2 separate regions of the Homo sapiens genome follow, and region 1 is linked to region 2. Evidence: promoter capture Hi-C in 16 types of primary human blood cells and fetal thymus (Javierre and others, 2016). All regions are on one chromosome and are shown on one strand. The core of a region is centred on a gene start or on the middle of the fragment in contact, and the rest is flanking DNA. Distances in the headings are between cores, read along the strand shown.

What was found. Contacts are between HindIII fragments. The CHiCAGO score rates a contact against its expected background, and 5 or more counts as called.
Region 1: a contact is called between a fragment that was not itself captured here and the fragment with the promoter of NUDT5 in region 2, in 1 of 17 cell types (fetal thymus). The highest score is 7.1, in fetal thymus.

The regions. Positions count from the first base shown.
Region 1 is chr10:12,709,383-12,717,077 of GRCh38, forward strand. All of the region lies in intron 3 of CAMK1D (calcium/calmodulin dependent protein kinase ID), which reads left to right. Among named protein-coding and RNA genes, the nearest start is that of MIR548Q, 12 kb to the right of the region's middle. The HindIII fragment of the contact is 1,535 bases long and covers 1,247-2,781 here.
Region 2 is chr10:12,191,578-12,198,239 of GRCh38, forward strand. NUDT5 (nudix hydrolase 5) reads right to left here and starts at 4,314. Exons shown (of 10, transcript NM_014142.4): 1 at 4,193-4,314. CDC123 (cell division cycle 123) reads left to right here and starts at 4,611. Exons shown (of 13, transcript NM_006023.3): 1 at 4,611-4,742. The coding sequence starts at 4,669. RefSeq lists an enhancer at 4,358-4,627. The HindIII fragment of the contact is 3,617 bases long and covers 2,263-5,879 here.

The sequences.
Region 1 (7,695 bases), core at 764-3,263, 520 kb after region 2:
CCTCTTTGCCATTGTTGAAACAAACTCGCAAATGGAAAGGACTTTGCAATGCAGAGTCTAAGGAGGGAAAATGAAAATATGACAGATACAAAGAACTGAATGCATTCTGAAATCTTAGGGGAATAAAAATATCTAGTATTGAGACAGCCCAAAGCTAAGAGTCTGCAAACTCAGAAACAGCAAGAAGCTTTTTCACAAGAAAAGGAAACTTAGTGCTCTAGGTACATAGAGGTGGAGAGGAGGGCCTGTGTGTTTTAATCTGTCACCCGATATCTTGTATAGCTGTAGGATTATGGAGTGATTCAGTTTCCTCTCTGTAGCAACATCCATGAAAATATCTATTTACTTACTGCCTCGGGAAAACATTCAAATTTATGATTTAATCAGCTTCAAAGTATTTCTGCTGAGTTTTGTTACTTTGTTTAACTTTTTTATTATGTGGTAGCTGGTGGATTGTAGGCATATTTAGCAGTTGGGAAATGTCTAAGGAAAGATTACCTTTGATAAAAAGCCAGTAGGAAGGGAATTGAAGGACGCAGAGTCGATGCCTGCAGTTTCTTGTTTTTGTTTCCCCAGCTCTGGAGTCAGACTGCATAGGTTTGCATCCTGACTCTTCAAGTTACCGTGTGACTTTGAGCAAACTTCTTAACTTTTCTGTGCCTCAGTTTCCTCTAAAATGTGATCATAGTTGTATTTACCTCAGAGATTGTCATGAGGATTAAATGAAATACTATATAAATGCTTAGAGCAGTATATCATCTTTCAGAAGAAAATTAAGTGTTACCGTTTGTAACTATCAGCTTCACAGACACTTAACTTCTTCTTTAATTTTCCCACTTAGAACCTAAAGTATATTTCTGTAAATGGGCACAACAGCTGGATCCCGACGTAATGACATTGATTTACGTTGTAAGTAACACACTACTGCCACCAGAGTATTTCTGGACAGTGTCTTGATAACTTTCGGTAATTTGGCTGTACCCTGTCATTCATTCCGTACATGTTTATTGAGCATCTATTATATGCTAGAAATGACATGAGCTATGGAAAATATGAACATGAAAAATAAAGAGCCCACAGATTAGTGACAAAGACAGAGAAGAAACAAATGCCTTCGATACAGTCTTTTGTACGTCAAAGTTTTTAGCCCTCTTGACAGTGGCTTGAGAGACCAGGTGTACAGACTTCTTTCGGGCTCAGGTCCTGCAAGTTGTGGGATGGGGGCCAGGATAATTTGCCACCAGCAAGCTTGGATTCAGCCACCTGCTGCTGCCCAGAATGCGATCCAACCTTTCCCAGTGAAAATGCAACCTTAGGAGTCAGGACCCAGGCAAGAGGGGGAGTGTGTAAAGACCTACACTGTATTCCACTAAGAACAAATAACTAATCACACAGCAGAACCTCTGGTATATAAACAAAGACATCCAGGCTGAACACAACCCCACCGGCGATATGTACCTCCGAGTGTACACCAGGGTATATAAAAAGTTATCCAAATGTCTGTTGCCTTTGACATTTGATCAATCACTATTGGAGTTTTCATCAACTTGTTCAGACTATATACCATGGATCTTTGCTGGGTGGATTAAGGTTTTGAATGTATTGCTTGTGTATTTCATCATGCAGTCAAAATCCACCTCCCACATAAGCCTGTTGTTGGATAGAGCTCCCAGTCATGAAAGTCTGTCCTCTTTTTCTCCCCTTCTATTTCTTGGTATTAATTTCAGCTTAATCAAGTCTTCTGGCCCTGTGATTCCAGGAACAGTTGGGTTCTGGCTAAAAGCAAAAGAGAAAACCGCCTGTTTCAGTCGCATAAGGTGATGTGGCAAGAACTTGTTTCTGAGGAATCCAAGATCTAGCCATTTTCAGCAGTGGTCATAGGGGACTGGAACGGGGGCGCCACCTGCAGGCTAAGGGGGAAAACACAGAGCGAGAAACTGAACCTTGCTTTAGGGGACAGGCATTTAAAGGCAAAGGAAATTCAGTCCCTCTGTGATAGACAGTAATGAACTCAGCAGGCTGTCTTGTAGATAAATATGCATGAGAATGCATCGTTGGAAGAGCTCTCACGTATTCCCTTCATTCCTGCCTTTTGGAGTTTCAGAATGTTTTACATTTTATGTTCATTTATATTTTTCTTTGTCAGAGTATGGAGATCCTAAAATCATCTGCCAGGGTATTTGCTGCTTCTTGGTACTGCTTGCTGCTCTTTTCAGAGAGAGCAGTGCCAGGTAAAATATTCTGCATTCTCATAAGAAGAGGTGAATGTCATTGCGTTCCCTGTTAATATGAGGCAGGGAAGGACGCTCTGGCCCGGAGCCGGAGTCCTCACACCACTTTGGTCTCTGTCCTTTCTAGCAGATCTAAATATCTACTCTGTCTACACCCTGTTTTTACAGAAACACCAGTGCTAGTCTAGAATGAAGGCAACATTGACAGCAGTGATGATCAAACGTTCGTTTTTCAATATGCCATGAAAAATAACTTGGTCCAAAATAAAATTCTGTCCTTATATTTCTATTTAGATGTATACCTCCCATAAAGGTAAAATGTTTTTCTCAGACGTAATTTCAGATTTTCTGTGTGCCCTACCAACAGATCAGGTTTCTCCTAAGTTTTTCAGTGGAAAATGTGATCGGCAAATGTATCAGCTGTTCCTCTGTTAGCTTTGTTGATTGATGCTTTTGAGGGGCAGAGTAGGTTTATTTGCTGATTTGTGCATTTTATCAGGTACAAAGGACATAGCAGATGTGGAAGATGCTTTTAAGAACTTCACCAAGAAGCTTGAGGGCCACCCTAAGGGAAGCTCCGCTCTCCTTCAACTGAAGCTCTCCAGGGACAATAGGAGCTGATGTTTTTGGAAGCGTCACACTGCTGGGGTCAGTGTTGCAGGTTCAGGAATGTCAGGATGCAGCCCTGTGTCTAGAGTACTCACAGCTAGGACAGGCGCACACATAACTATAATACCAAGCCAGCCTGCAGCAGCGCCATGGAGGGGCACACAGGGTGAAGAAGGGTGTCTTAGCTGGAATTGCTACAACAGAACGCTGTAGACTGGGCAGCTTCAATGTGGATGTGTATTTCTCACAGTTCTGGAGGGTGGAAGTTCCAGAGCAAGGTGGTGGCTGATTCACTTCCTGGTGAGGGCTCTCTTCCTGGTTTGCAGACGGCCTCCTTCTCACTGTGTTCTCACATGGTGGACAAAAAGAGGGCTCTGGCGTCTCTTCTTATAGGGACACTAATCGCATCCTGGGGGCCCCATTTGTTTGACATCATCTAACCTGATCGTCTCCCAAAGGCTCCATCTCCTAATACCATCATACTGGGGGTTAGGGTTTCGTGTGTATTTAGGGGTAGGGGAGACTAACATTCAGTCCATAACGGAGGGGAAGATTCAGCTGTAGGATTATCAGGCTCAGAGAATTAGACTCTATTATCTCCCCCGCCTACACACACACCCCTGTACTGATGAGAAAAGTAAAGCAGCGAAGGGGAGGGTACTGAGCTTAGCAGCAGCCAGCTTCATTGTCAGTTCCATACCTGGGAGAGCCTCAGAGCCCACCCTCTGTGAAAGGAGGGAGGCATGAGCATGTAAAAAATATATACTTCTCCATGGAAAAGATGGTTTTGACATTCCCGGAGGCATGGTACCTATTTCAGATCTCCTTAGAGTTTCTGTTAAGTGGGTGCCTCCCTTTTTTTTTTGGGATGGAGTTTTGCTCTTGTTGCCCAAGCTGGAGTGCAATGGCGCCACCTTGGCTCACTGCAACCTCTGCCTTCCAGGTTCAAGCGATTCTCCTGCCTCAGCCTCCTGAGTAGCTGGGATTACAAGCGCACGCCACCAGGCCCGGCTAATTTTTTGTATTTTTAGTAGTAACAGGGTTTCACCAAGTGAGTGCTGCTTTTAAGAAGTCAAATGATAGGCAACTTGTGGACGATGCCTTTAGTTTATCTAAGTCCTGTTTCAGCTTTGAGGTTTCCATGAGTTGCGTTTTACCCTGAGGTTGGTGAAGTGCAGCATTGGGTTAACTTTGCTCCCACGAATTCCAGGGGTGCCCATTGCTAACTGGCTTCTCACAGCAATGACATTTGAGGCCGGAATGGTCTCTCTGTCGGCACGGTACACAGTTGTTCACTGGTGGCTTATTGGTCAGATCAAAAACCAAAAAGAAACAGGGAGGGAATGCGGACTAGGATCCATGTTTGTAGAAATCTGAGCAGGGAGAAAGGAAGAAAGGAGGATTGGGGGACCCCTACATGTCCTCCCTTCAGTTGCAGATGTTTGTTAGGATGTGGTCAGATGTGGGGAAGGGCAGGTGGCCATGGAAGCAGGGCCCCCAACAAGTGGCATTCACCTGGATGGATGCCCCACAGCCCAGCATCTAGACTTCAGCTGGTTTGTCAACACACCAAGTGTGGATGCTTTTGTTGGAACAGAATCCCTCAACAGAGACAGAATGCCAGTATTATTGATTCATAATAAAATGTATAATTATCCAGTGGGCTCATGTTGGCTAAGTAGCATCGTCTTTCCCCTTTAGGGCAAAAATACTTAGAAAGGCAAACTGTAATCAGAAGATCGCTTGGATGGATGGGATCAGAGCAGGAGGAGGGAACGGGGTTATGTTGACAGCTGGTACCATCAGGCTGTGATAGCTGGTCTGGAACCCTCACCTCCACTGTAAGGACATCCCTGCCACAGCCCATGGTCACGGCATGTAGCCAGGACTCTGCTTTCCCAGTGGTCCTGTGGAGGGGCTGCTGACTTGGAAGGTGGTGGGCTTCTCTAAGTCTCTTATCCATGGTCACCCTGCTGACCGACCCCACCGTCACCCCCCACCCCCGTAGGCATAGACATATTATATCTTTAGAATATGAATCCAGACAACCGTCTACCTTCATACATGGCATAGTCCCCAAAACATGCACCCCTGTGCAAAATGGAACAGTACACTTACATGCTCCCAGCCCAGAGAGGTTTAAAAGTATATTTATATTTTTAATTATAATTTTAAAATAAAAAGTATATTTATATATTTATAAATAGGTGCATTAAGGCCAGGTGCGGTGGCTCACGCCTGTAATCCCAGCACTTTGGGGGGCCAAGGCAGGCGGATCACGAGGTCAGGAGTTAGAGACCAGCCTGGCCAACATGATGAAACCCTGTCTCACTAAAAATACAAAAAATTAGCTGGGCTTGGTGGCAGGTGCCTGTAATCTCATCTACTCAGGAGGCTGAGGCAGGAGAATTGCTTTAATCCAGGAGGTGGTGGTTCCAGTGAGCCGAGATCACGCCACTGCACTCCAGCCTGGGCAACAGAGCAAGACTCCAACTCAAAAAATAAATAAGTAAATAAATAAAAATAGGTACATTAAATTACACACACACACACACACACACACACACACACACACACACACACAATGTCTGATTATCCCTGGTCTTTTAGTTACCTTTTTTTATTGATACATAATGCTTCTACCTATTTATGGGGTATATGTGATGTTTACTCGCATAGAATGTGTAATGATCAAGTATCATTACTTCGAATATTTGTCTTTTCTGTGTTGGGAACACCTCAAGTCCTCTCTTCTAGCTATTTTGGAATATACAGTGCAGTATTGTTAACCAAAGTCCCCCTACTCTGCTATGGAACATTAGAACTATTCCTTCTATCGAACTGTATGTCTGTATCCACTCACCAATCCCCTCAGACGCCCCCTACACCCTTCCAGCCTCTGGTATCTATCATTCTACTCTCTACCTCCTTGAGATCCACTTTCTCAGCTACCACGTATGAGTCGTCACAGTTCTTGATGATATATTTCCCCATGCCTATAGCTTTTTGCTTTTCATTCTTTTATAACTAAATCTGAACATTGGCCTACCTAGATTCCAGTGAGCACCCAATTGGTCACTTCTGTTCTGTGTGATCATTTCCATCTTTGTCTCTTCTCAAATGCATGACTACTGCGATATCTTCATTTCTTATCACTAGCTGCTTCAGGTGCATTTTATCATTTTCCTCTTTTAAAATAAATAATAGGAAAATGCCCCAAATATTCAACAAACAGTTGAACAAATACTGCTCTGTAGATGGATACAGCCATTCTGTGCAAACTTAACTTTTGGCTTGAAGTGATTGGCACAATACAAGGCTCAAATTATTTGTGGGAAAATCTAGCTTTTGCATACAAAACGTGATGTCACCTTTTATGTTATGTGATATAACATAGTATGCTATGTTTTCAAAAGTTAAATAGACAAAAGTTAGGGAAGTTGATAACCACAATCAGATTATACTTGGATCTCGGGGGGAGAAGTGTGGGATGGCATTTGCCTTTTTTTTTTTTTTTTTAGATGAAGTCTCTCTCTCGCCCAGGCTGGAGTGCAGTGGTGCAATCTCGGCTCATTGCAGCCTCCGCCTCCCGGGTTCAAGCCTCAGCCTCCCAAGTAGCTGGGATTACAGGTGCGCGCCACGATGCCTAGCTAATTTCTGTATTTTTAGTAGAGACAGGGTTTCACCATGTTGGCCAGGCTGGTCTCAAACTCCTAACCTCAAGTGATCCACCCGCCCCAGCCTCCCACAAGTGCTAGGATTACAGGTGTGAGCCACTGCGCCCGGCCCATTTTGCTTATTTTAATAAATTCAGTAAATAGTTATTGAGTGCTTGCTGTGCGTCAGGCTCAGTGCTAAGCATCTATCGTCAAGTTCTAGGAAGGGGGAGAATGAGGGGACACCTTCCTGGCGCCTCTATGATACCGCCTCGCACTTTATCTCTCTGAAGTGGTTTTGAAATCCCTTAGACCAGGGACTCTCAGCCTTGGCGCTGTTGACATCTGGGGCTGGAGAATTCTTTGCTGCAGAGGATGTCTTGTGTATTGTAGGATGTTTATCAGCACCCCTGGCTTCCACCCACTAGATGCCAGTAGCATCCCCGGTCTCCAAACATTGTCATATGTCCCCTGCGGGACAGAATCACCCCAGCTTGAGAACCATTGCATCAGACCCTCCGGCTTTCTTGACTTTGCCAGAAAAATTTGCACTGGGCCTGCCTACTGTTCCGTCTAGTGTTGTACGTGTTGAGCCAATTTGTTCAAAAGCCTCAGAGTGGTGCATGGGAGACAGAGGGGCTCTGAGAATGAAAATGCATTTGGTTCATAGCAATAAGTATGTGCCGTGTCATGAGAACTTCTCACACCTAGTGTTTTGCACACCCAGCACCCTGCACCTTCTTTGCCCCATTTCCATCCCCCGAGATGAAGGCTACGACTGCGTCATGTGAATTGGAACAATTCAACTAAATTAACAGTATGGCATCATGCAGAGAGTGGGCCTGGAACACTGGCTGAATTTTTTTTAACTATATTTCTGGAATTGAACTGGTATCTTGACCCAGTGTGCATGCTTAGCGTGGTGTTCACTGCAATTCGTGATGGGAGTAGAGGCCAGGCTGGTACCATCACCCGCGGCCTGGCTGTCGGGACTCTCTTACTAGAGCAAGGAGGGGAGCAAGGGAAAGCGTGAACTGGCAGCACCAGATCCTGTGAGCAATGCTTCTACCCAGATAAATCAGGGTATATGTATTCACAGAGGATACACTGTGATATTTTCTCATTTTAAATGTATTGGTCAGTGTTAAAAACAGAATGCCATTACTTGAGGAGTAGTCCAGTGATAATGTACATTTCAG
Region 2 (6,662 bases), core at 3,064-5,563:
TTGTGATATGAGGTAGTTTTGGGGGCCAGTGCCATGCACTGCATGTGCCTATAGTCCCGGCTACTTGTGGAGGCTGAGGTGGGAGGATCGCTTGAGCTGAGGAATTCATGATGACCCTAGGAAACATAGTGAGATCCTATGTAAAAAATGAAAAAACAAACACCAAAATAAACTAATTTTGGGGTTAGGCAGCAAGTACAGCCCTCTACAGAAAGGGAGGAAGTGATTAATTTTTCACCAACTTCAGTATGCCAGTATTAGTAACAACAGCTGCATAAAGAGTTAAGTGGGAGTTTAGATTCCAGAAGTTAAACTATGAACTCAAAAGCCTGGTTCTGCAGTTGGCACTGAGGCTCATTACTCAATCACCGTACCCGAATCCCGGCCATCTGCTGAGGCTGCAAAGTGAAGCAAAAAATCCTAACAAGAAATTGTATGTTGGCTAGGTCTCTCCTGATAAAAGATGAATATTGTTAATATCAACAATACTCAACCAAATACAAGATGCAGGAGCCCACATCATAAGTAGAGCCTCTGACTGACAAAAGAGGGTCAGGCACTTGGAACAGTTTAATAATTGAATAGGGAAATCAACAAGGCACTTTGAAAGAAATTAAGTGGGGAGCTGAGGCAGGAGAATCGCTTGAACGAGGGAGGTGGAGGTTGCAGTGAGCCGAGATCATGCCACTACACTCCAGCATGGTGACAGAGTGAGACTCTGTCTCCAAAAAAAAAAAGAAAAGAAAAGAAAAGAAATTAAGTGGGAGAGAGGATCAATTTTTTTTGCAGTAATAACTTACTTTATGATTGTCTTGTTAAAGTCAGGCATCAAATTGGGCATGTCTAAAGTGGCAATCTACATTCTGGCAGAATAATTACAAAGAAAAGTCACTTGATTTAGAAGGAACAAAGAATCAAATAATTTGCAGTTATATTTAATAATTTTGGTCATAGTTAAAAATTTTTAAATTCTATTTTTAAAAGATAATATTCTGGCCGGGCTCGGTGGCTCATGCCTGTAATCCCAGCGCTTTCGGAGGCCAAGGCAGGTGGATCACTTGAGGTCAGGAGTTCGAGCCTAACCAACATAGTGAAACCCCCATCTCTGCTAAAAATACAAAAAATTAGCTGGGTGAGGTGGCACACGCCAGTAGTCCCAGCTACTTGGGAGACTGAGGCACGAGAAAAGCCTGAACCTAGGAGGCAGCAGTTGCAGTGAGCCAAGATTGCACCACTGCATTCCAGCCTGGGCGACAGAGCGAGACTCTGTCTCAAAAGAAAAAAAAAGGATAATATTCTGATGTATCCTTCTTTTGTGCCATTTATGGTAAAAAATTTGGGTACCCACAATTGAATTCACTTATGGGTTTTTTTTTCATTCTCTTCAGGTGTGGCAGTTGGGTGGGCAGGGAGTAATTAACGTTTACTGAAATTATGCTACTTGGTGATCTCCAGGAATCATTTAGCAGGTGGTTTAAAATCCTCACATTTAATGCTGGTTGAGCAAGAGTGAACTGACTGTAATGACCCTTGGGAAGGTGAATTGGTTACAGACGTATAGTAACGACACTGTAAAGATAGTCCAGGCAGGAGATGACAGGTCTGGAGTAGAGTGGTAGCCGTGGCAAAGTGACATTTAATTTCCACGAAGACAGTTTTAAGGGAGACTGGGACATCGGAAGAAAAAAGGGGTGATGCAGAGCTCAAATCTGTACACGCTTGTTTGAGGTGATAGCAGACATCCAGATGAAGAAAACCAGCAGACAGGTGAAAATCTTAATCTAGGATGATTAGTCATGCTATGGATTCAGAGAAAGAAATGTGTTTTTTCATTACTTCATTAGGAATTGCACAATAAATCTCCTCCCCCATAATCACATGACTACTGACTTTTCAGCATGCAGGAGAAAAAGCAAATATTTCCACTGTTGAAAGGTTTTATTGGAGAAACTTGATGAATACAATGACTTCATGGCTTAGTGAAGACAACCACGGTGGTTAAAATACAGTGAACCCTCATTTAGCTGTATCCATTCAAAGTATTTGAGCATCTCCTATGTATAATGTCAATTTATTTGATGCTGGTTAAATGTGTAACAAGTTACTTAAAACCAACTGTAATACCAAAAAGTCATTGAACACACTTCTAAAGTATACTGCCTGAATAAAAGGTATCTATAAAAATTCCTTCCCTGTAGTATCTATATATTTAAGCTTACAAACTTAGCTGCTTTTCTACACACAACTGCAATTCTATATTAAAGCTTTGCAACTGCCTTAATCTCTACACTCTTTTTTTTTTTTTTCCCGAGACGGAAAAAAAAGAGTCTCGCTCTGTTGCCAGGCTGGAGTGCAGTGGCGCGATCTCGGCTCATCGCAACCTCCGCCTCCCGGATTCAAGCGATTCTCCTGCCTCAGCCTCCCGAGTAGCTGGGACTACAGGCATGCGCCAACACGCCCGGCTAATTTTTGATATTTTAGTAGGGACGGGGTTTCGCCATGTTGGACAGGCTGGTCAAACTCCTGACCTCAGGTGATGCGCCCGCCTCGGCCTCCCAGAGTGCTGGGATCACAGGCATGAGGCACCGCGCCCGGCCTATGCTCAAATGTTTCTTGGGCTGTTAAAGTACTGCTCCTCGCAGAAGGGCTATGTTCCCGGGATCTATTCTCTTCCGTACATTCATTCCTATCTTCATTAGAAAACATCTGACCTAAATAAATCCCCCATCGATGCTAACATCTCCTTCCGCGCAATTTTTTACTTTCTAAGTCAAATCAAAACAATTATTTGAGCGACTGCTCCTGTCTGCCATTAAGTCTTTCTGGCACCACCCTCCAGACATATATACAATATTGCTTCTTTCCCTCAAATCAGAAAGGACTGCATAGTTCCGGATCAAGGCATAAATGATGAATCATGACTGTCCATCCCCACCAACATACTCTGCAACATTATAATCTATTTACCTCTGCTTTGAAAATGTATTCTTTAAAGCACTGCTTCCAACTAGCCACTTAGCCAGTAACATTTTTGAGAAAAACAAAACACAACCCAAAACAATGTATATATTCCTGGGGGGAAGAGTTTCTAACTCAAAATACGCAGATAATTGTTTATTATTCTAAGGAACACCCTTCTGAAGAGGCCTGCAGTCGGTGGGGCTGTTTCTAATTTAAAACTACTTAGGTGAACCAGGAAGAATGTACATTTAAGGAGATACTTTTAGACGCAGATGCCTCGCGCAAGCCTAAAGCTCGTGTGGTAAGCGACACGACTAGGGGTTAAAAGCGGCTGGTTGGTAGGCCCGGGGCCGTGGCTCACGCCTTGTAAACCCAGCACTTTGGGAGGCTGAGGCGGGCAGATCACCTAAGGTTAGGAGTTCGAGACCAGCCTGGCAAATATGGTGAAACGCCGTCTCTACTAAAAACACAAAAATTAGCCGGCGTAGTGGCGCGCGCGCGCTCTCAGCTACTCGAGAAGCTAAGGCAGGAGAATCACTTAAACCCAGGAGGCGGAGGTTGCAGTGAGCCAAGATTGCGCCACTGCACTCCAATCTGGGCACAGAGTGAGACTCCGTCTCAAATAAATAAATAAAAGCAGCTAGTTACTTCTCATTCTTTTAACGAAACAAACAAAACTGAACTTTGCTGGGTGACAGGAGTGAAGCAAAGGAAAAAACGATAGTACAAGTTCGATTCGAATTCTTCCAGTCTTATGATTCGATCATCGCAGGAATACTGATAAAAATCTGCGTTTTTTCCAGGTTGACAACTTTTGCGAGGCCAGACTAAACGAATTCAGCGCTCCAAGGAGACTCCTCTTTCCTCTGCTTTCTCACATTTACCTCTCGCCTTTTACCTCCCAAAGTCGAACCCTCCAGGATCGTACAGGCGGTATTCCCTCTACCAAGCATTCTACTCCTCTGCAGATGCTGCAATCTTTACACTGGAACTAACACTTAGCTGTGGTGTTCCCCGCTTTCTTTACTCGGAGTAGCCCAGGCTCTTCCTCTCCAATCCACAATTTCCCTCCAATCCCCAGTTTCCCTCTTGGGCGCCTGGACGCGTGCCCAGCCGCAGCCTGGGAGACACCGCGCGGCTGCACGCACCATGCAGATGTGGTCCCTTTCCCCTTCTTCTTCTCCTCCCCAAAGAGGTTTTGTGCTGTGACTGGCTTGCCCCGGTTACTTACTCCAAGGTGTAGGGGTGAAGAACGGAAGAGGACGAAATAACTAGCTGGAGGCAGCAGTGTCAGCCGATGCCGGTGCCACGGCTCGAAACACCGGCGCCTCTCGCGGTGCTAAAAGGATGGGCGCGCACCCTCCTTCCGGCATCCGTAGAACCCCCGCCTTTGACCTAGCTTCAGGAGATTACTTTCCGGGTCAGCGTGCGTTTAGGGCGAAGACGGAGTTGTAAACTTCTTAAAATTCCTCTCTCGACACTTCGGTAATTCCTCTTTCGAGACTAAAGCTCTTTTTGTATGCGTGTGTGTCAAGCGTATGCCCCGGGATTCTCCTCCGCTTCCTTTTCTCGGTCTTCCTTCTTGCTTTAGGGACCGGAAGAGTCCTTGAACCAAAATAGCTCGGCGGGCACTTCCGGGGCCGGCGCCCAGAGTTCCGGGAGGGTGCAGGCAGGAGAGGGAAAGGCAGCAGCGGCGGCAGCTGGAGGATGAAGAAGGAGCATGTGCTTCACTGCCAGTTCTCCGCGTGGTACCCGTTCTTCCGAGGCGTTACCATCAAGAGGTGAGATGGGAGGGGGTTCGCCCGGTCGACCGGCAAAAGGGAACTGCGACTTCTGAGCGAATCTTACTGCTATCCAAAAAAATGCAGGCCTTCTAGCGACTGCATGGGAGGGAGTGTGTCGAGAGGGAAGTACATCAGCAATTGTCTGCGTCCTGTTGCGAGCCAGCGAGTGTGCTGGCTAGGAGGGTCAGTTGTGGTTTTCAGTGAGGGTCGGAGGCGGGAGGAATAGTGGATTAACCTAGTTTAGGCTTGGGAGTTCACCACCACTACTTTTAGAATGGCCCCAGGCGCAAGGTGATCACTGCCTAAGTGCACTCGGAGAATTAATTGCTTTTCGCCATCACCCCAGAGGATGGAGATTGGGAAGGTGAAAGGATACGTAATTACAGTTAGATACGAGAACAAGTTCACAGATATGTCGTACAGCATGGAGGCTATAGTTAATGACGATATACGTATTCTTGAAAAACGGAGAGTGGATGTTAGTGTTCTCACCACAAAAATAACTATGTTAGGCAATGCATTTGTTAGCTAAATTTATTCCACAGTGTATATATACTTAAAAACATCAGGTAGGCGGCAAGTATTAATATATACAATTTCATCTCTCAGTTTTTTTAAAGGCGTTGATAGAAAATCTGGGCTTTGCACTTAACTGATTTTCTGAGCCAACATTTCAGTAATTGCTGATTCATTATATGATGGTTTCATTCAATAAAGATCGGATATGTACTTGAAAATGTGTAACTGGCTTAGAATGGTTAAAATGTATAAGAAAAGTTTCAAGTTCTTAAATAGTATTGGAATGTGTGGTAGAACCTTAGATTCATTGTACTTAACAATTTCGCTTGTTAGCTTTGTAAGAGTAAAATACTTAGGAAGGCTTATTTGTAATCAGCAAATAGACATATTAAGAAAGAAAATTGAGTGGTTTATGAATAGAATTTAAAATTTTAAAGAGACTTTTAAGTTGCAAAGTTTCGCTTGAAATTGTTTAAAATTTAGTAGATTTTCAAACGTAATAAGATTTGTTAGAAGAAATTAAAAGCCTGAAGAACTAGATTTTTTTTTTTTGAGACAGAGTTTTGTTCTGTCGCCCAAGCTGGAGTGCAGTGGCAGCGATCTTGGCTCACTGCAAGCTTCCCTTCCCGAGTTCACGCCATTCTCCTGCCTCAGCTTCCTGAGTAGCTGGGACTACAGGCGCCCGCCACCACCCCCGGCTAATTTTTTGTATTTTTAGTAGAGGCGGGGTTTTCACCGTGTTAGCCAGGATGGTCTCGATTGCCTGACCTCGTGATCCGCCCGCCTCGGCCTCCCAAAGTGCTGGGATTACAGGTGTGAGCCACCGCGCCCGGCCAGAACTAGATTTTTGAATGTGAAATTGTACCTTTGATAAATCAAATATTTATTTTTAAAACCGAAGTTTTTGCTCTGTCGCCCAAGCTGGAGTGCAGTGGCAGTGATCTTTTATTTATTTAAAAATAAATAAAAATACTTATTTTTAAAACCGAAGTAGCCCATGAATACTCTTTTTTGTGCAAAAAAACCATTTGTAATGTGCCAAAAAAAACTTCTTCCATAAATAAATGAGACATGTTATAAGTCATTGATGTTCTGTTAACTTCGGGAAAGCAGGCTGTAATCTTTTCCACTTTTTGAAGATGTATATGCCTCAAAATCAAAATAATACCAGCACTCTTAGGGATCTGTGGTAGGGCTTTTTGATAATTTATTATTTCAAGGTAAAAAACAAATTATCCCATAAGTTTTTAAGAGACTTCAGGTATGGCTTTGCCATCCTTAATTATGATTACCTGAAACAAATTAAGCTAAAGCATGCCTAGTTTAAGCAGCTTTATATCTCTGGTGATCAGTTGAATAGAAAGCCAGCAAGACACATCCAAAAGTATCATGAATTCT